Regions from separate parts of the Homo sapiens genome. Here region 1 is linked to region 2. The links are contacts of gene promoters, found by promoter capture Hi-C in blood cells and fetal thymus (Javierre and others, 2016). All regions are on one chromosome and are shown on one strand. The core of a region is centred on a gene start or on the middle of the fragment in contact, and the rest is flanking DNA. Distances in the headings are between cores, read along the strand shown.

What was found. Contacts are between HindIII fragments. The CHiCAGO score rates a contact against its expected background, and 5 or more counts as called.
Region 1: a contact is called between a fragment that was not itself captured here and the fragment with the promoter of CFAP20DC-AS1 in region 2, in 1 of 17 cell types (naive B cells). The highest score is 5.1, in naive B cells.

The regions. Positions count from the first base shown.
Region 1 is chr3:59,569,557-59,572,256 of GRCh38, reverse strand. The region is part of intron 6 of CFAP20DC-DT (CFAP20DC divergent transcript); the gene reads right to left. Among named protein-coding and RNA genes, the nearest start is that of CFAP20DC-DT, 480 kb to the right of the region's middle. The HindIII fragment of the contact is 3,038 bases long and covers 1-2,700 here.
Region 2 is chr3:58,823,043-58,825,742 of GRCh38, reverse strand. It overlaps CFAP20DC-AS1 (CFAP20DC antisense RNA 1), which reads right to left and starts at 1,272. Exons shown (of 3, transcript NR_110820.1): 1 at 1,168-1,272. All of the region lies in intron 14 of CFAP20DC (CFAP20 domain containing), which reads left to right. The HindIII fragment of the contact is 7,858 bases long and covers 1-2,700 here.

The sequences.
Region 1 (2,700 bases), core at 168-2,667, 750 kb before region 2:
GAAAATAGGCATTAAAACTGCAGCAACCTGGAAAAAATAAAAGCTGAGGTGGGATTTTAAATGACAGCCATAAGGACATGCCTTGTGGTGAAAGATGGTGGTTGGATAAGGAAGGGCTGCTCAGCTGTCTACTAAGGGACGCGGTCTCTGGTTCATTCCTCAAGAGTTTCCATAGGCTGCACAGGACAACAGCTTTCTCATTTAGGCTGGAGTTGAGGATGCTTAAAGTTTTGTTTTTTTCCACAACTACCTGCACTTTGAGGGCAACAAAGTGAGAATGACTCATGAGAGATGGTCCTGTTTGGACCAGAGGCAAAGCAACAACCAGCCCATCTGGGGAAAATTTGTCTCTAGGAGAACAGTGTTTGTGTATTGATAATATAAAATTAGATGACAGCATCCCCTTCTTCTCTTCCCTACCACCAAGGAGGAACTGAACCTTCAGAAATCCACTTGTTTTTTGTTTGTTTGTTTGTTTGAGACGGAGTCTCACTCTGTTGCCCAGGCTGGAGTGCCTTGGAGCAATCTTGACTCACTGCAACCTGTGCCTCCTGGGTTCAAGCGATTCTTTGGCCTCAGCCTCCCAAGTAACTGGGACTACAGATGCATGCCACCATGCCCAGCTAATTTTTGTATTTTTAGTAGAGATGGGGTTTCACCATATTGGGCAGGCTGGTCTCAAACTCCTGACCTCATGATCTACCCACCTTGGCCTCCCAAAGTGCTGGGATTACAGGCGTGAGCCACCATGCCCAGCCAATTTTTGTATTTTTAGTAGAGATGGGGTTTCACCATATTGGCCAGGCTGGTCTCGAACTTCTGACCTCATGATCCACCCTCCTTGGCCTCCCAAAGTGCTGGGATTACAGGTGTGAACCATCACACCCAGCCTCCAGGAATACACTGTTTAAATTTCTCTTTCACAAGTGATGCCCTGGTTAAATCCCTTCATCACATTTTGCATCTCTTCTTCAGATGAGTTTCCCAAGAGAAGAGCTCAGTCTCCCTCCCTGGTTACTCAACTAATGTCTAAAATGTCACTGGTCCTCACTATTTATTAAATGACTGAATTGCCAGATTATCAAAATCCATACATACTACCAGAGAAGTCTCTCTGGCTGTTACGAAAAGATTGGTTTCTCCTAAATCAACAGTCACTGAGAACCAACCATTCATTGAATAACTCATTCACTTCACAACTGTATATCTAGCAAGGATCTTAGTAAGTGCCAGACCCCTTGCAAGATTTTCCAGACACAGCAGCAAATAAAACAGACAAGATTCTGGCTCCCAGGGAGTTGATAGTAGGTAAGACCAGGGATCATCACACATTTCTATAAAGAGCCAGAGCATAAATATTTAAGGCTTTGCAGGCCACTTGCAGTCTCTGAAGCATATTTTCTTTGTATTTTTTGTATGCTTGTTTTTAACAACACTAAAAAATATAAAAAACCATTCTCATATCAAGGGTCTTTCAAAAATAGACCACAGGCCAAATTTGGCCCATTAGCCCTAGTTCGTCAACACTTGTTTAAGACAGACATTAAACAAATGCCCTGAGGATGACATCAGTACAGGTGAGATAAGCACGTAGGAGAGTGAGAGAGGAAAAAAAGGCTGCGTACATACGGCCAAGATTTTGGAGGGGTCAGGGAAGGCCACCAGGAAGGAGAAGCATTCAAAATATGATGTGATGGAGGAGCAGGGCTAACTCAGCAAAGAATGAGGAGCGTGAGGGAGGAGGGCGAGGGGGCTGAATGAAGGGAGAGGGGCTACAGGTAAAGGCTTTGAGCAGCACAGCTGAGCGGGATCCAGATAAAAAAGCCTTGTCAACTGTATCAGGAGCTTGGATTTTACCTTAGGTACAACGGAAGCCTTGTAAGGGTGGGTTTTAAGGAGAAGAGTGCCTGGATCTCCATGAAATTGAAGGAACTCTTCTGGCTGCTGGGCAGGTTCTACTCTGAGAAAGTAAGAGGCTAGTCCACTGTAGCCTTGTGCTATGGGTTCGATTGTGTCCCCTCCTCCCCCGCCAAAATGTGTTGAAGCCCTAACCCCCTACTCCTTGGAATGTGACCTTATTTGGAAATAGGGTCCATTACAGATATAATTTGTTAAGATGAGGTCATACTGGAGTAGGGTCCAACAAATGCCTGGTGTCCTTATAAAAAGGCAGGCATGTGAAGACAGGCACACAGGGACAACCCCAGATGGCATAAAGGCAGAGTGTGGCGTGCTGCAGCTGCAAGCCAAGTAAGGCCAAGTAAGGCCAGAGACCTCCAGAAGCCAGGAAGAGGCAAGGAAGGACACCCTTGCAGGTTTCAGAGGGAGCCTGGCCCTACTGACCATTTGATTTTCAGATTTCTAGCCTCCAGAATGGTGAGATAATATAATCCTGTTGCTTTAAGTCACCCAATTTGTGGTGCTTCCTTCCAGCAGCCCTAGGAAATAAATACACCTAATGGGTGACAATGACTAGGAAAGAAGGAAAGAAATGCACTGCTTTGAAAAACATTTTAAAGATAGAATTAAAGAGCTTTGAGATGGGTTGGATGTAGGGAAGTGGGGAAAAGGAAATGTATAGGCTGGCAATCCACACCCAGCTACTGCCCTTGGTTACCTGTGGAAGGGCAGCAGTGATTAGAGGGAAGGAAGAAACAGCGAGCATTTCCTTATAAAATACACCACTCCATCCTTTGTCTT
Region 2 (2,700 bases), core at 23-2,522:
CTGTGGAAACCAGGCTACAATCAATCAATTTTGGAGAGTTTCTGTTAGGAGTAGCCCTCGTGAGATTTATTCAAAAACTGGGCTCTCGGCAGCCTTTGGAAGGGCACTAGGAGTTAGTTATAATGAATTTTAAGTGAATTTTATCTTGGTGAGGGATTTTGATTGACAATAGCATAAAGCCATGTTGTGTGTGTGTGTGTGTGTTTTCTTTTTTTAAGGAACAGGAACAGCTATCAATGGACACTGCTTCATGGGATGCCCAAACAAATATAAACTCTAGATCAGTCAACCTGGGCTCAAATTCCAGCTCTGCCATTTATGGACATGATCATCTTTGAAATGGAAATAATAAAAGAACCTTCCTAATATTGGCATTATGCAAATCGAATGAGTACATGAAATGCATGTGCCTGGTGCTTAGCAGAGTAAGCTCACACTGACTGTCAACTGCTGTTTCCCCAAGGTTATTCTCCTCAAAGGGCCACTTGAGTGATCAGAACAGAATTTCTAGGACATTTTCCCTTTTTATGACGACTGAGACCTGAAAGAGTAAGCAGAGATTCTGTAGTGTTTGTTTTGATGTGAGTTTAACCATCAGCATACAGACTGACTCCCTCAGATCCTTCCAAATAAACTCCTTCATTATCTCATTATTTCAATATTTCATTTCACTGTCTCTCCTCAAATGTAGATTCAAGAAAAGTAGGTTTATTGTGCAGCTACCCTGTGAGCAGATGCCCCAAAGCTGTCATTCCTTCAGGTTAATAATTAACATAACCTGAACGGGGGCATGGTGGCACAGGTCTGTATTCCCAGCTAATTGGGAGGCTAAGGCAGGAGGATTTTAGCCCAGGAATTCAAGGCCAGTGTGGGTAACACAATGAGACCCCATCTCTTAAAAAAAAAAAAAAGAATTCCCATACCTAATATCAAGCACATAAGTCTCTTTAGCTTACAAAAAAGAAAAGAAAAGCTCATTGCATGCATCCATCAACATGGCATGTTGCAGAGCATAATATTCGGAGAATAACGAGGCAAAATACACTTAATAAAACTGCAGGCATATGGTGAGGTTCTCAGACAAGTTATTTATGGTCTTGATTAACCTTGCAACATTATCGCCATTTTCATAGGTTTTACATAACAACATAAAAATATTATCTTTACCTTTTAACATGGCAGGATTATCTTATCTCCGGTTCTTTTATTTAGCCTTCATTTCGCTCCCTCACCCCAAAATCTCTAGCAGCTTGATCATGGAAAAGCAAAGCTGCTTGTGCTCCGTGGTAGTTAATTATATATGAATACTGTTTTCCTGGCACTAGCACATAGCAACAGCGCCACCAAAAGGCCGAGGTCCTGAGTTTCTGGGATCTGTTCCATTTCTTTGCTCCACAGCATATCAGCGTTTTTGCATGATATTCCTGGTTGCTGTGTATTCAAAATATAATATATTGGCATTTCAGACTCCTTATAATTAATAGGTTTTAATTTGTTCTGATCTACAGATTCATTAACTTCTCAGCTCTCTTTGGGTAGAATGAGTTTTCTTTTAATCCTCCTGAACTAAAAAGGTATGCAGTTGATTGTGCTAAGCTGCAGATAAATCATATGAGCAGATGTTCTTATACAACTATAGAAATGATATACGAAAACTGATATTAGAGTCAGTGTAATAGTGACAATAGAGACAGTATCTGTACTGTCAGGAGGAAATATTGAAATGTGCAAGTTGTTCTGTGTTTAGTGACTATGAAAGTCACCCCAGGAAATAAACTTTTCTTATTCTCAGAGTACTGTCTATTACATTTTATGATTGTCCCAAATTTAGTAACGTGGCAAAACTGATTTTTTAAATTGTAAATACATAGTGACATGTCATGAGAATGAAAACAATGAAATTAATTTATGGTAAGGAGATAGTCATATATATTTCAAATAAATGTATTTCTTCAGGGTCACTTTTTTTTCCTGCCACAAACAGAACTGATTTTGTCATTTTGTTATTCAAAAACTTAAATAGTCACCACTCTAGATGCACTCTCGAGCTGGAATAAACACTACAGACTAGTGGTTGAGAGGGTAAGCTGTGGACTCAGACTGCCTGGGTTCACATTCTAGCTCCACTCTTTCCTGGCAGGCACGATCCTGGGTTAATACCCAGTGTCAATTTCCTCTTCTGTTGAATGTAGTTGTTCATCCTATTTATTTCATAGAATTGCTCTGAGGATCAAATAAGATCATATCTACCAAGAATTAGCATAAGTACTCAATAAATGTCAATCGCCGCTATTATGATGATGGTCGTAGTTCATTGTAGATACTGGTTGTCATCCCTTTGCATCTACTTACGATATTCTCTAGGTATGACTGAATGCCAAAATCAAAACAAATTCTATATTATTTCATTGGTGCTTTCACAGGATGCTACCTACCTAGAAATAGGTTTACTGCTACATATGTTTATAAGCATATTGTAGGGGAGGAAAAATATCTTTTTCTCACCCACCCTGGATTCATCGCCAAGGCCTCTGTTGCAACAAAAGACAGATTAGCAAAAGAAAAACATACAAATTTATTTCATGTAAGTTTTCCATGATACAGGAGTCTTTATAAGGAAATGAAGAACTGAACAAACAGTGAAACTTGAATATTTTTACTCCAGGTTTGATGAAGAGAGGAAAGTGGTGGAGAAATATG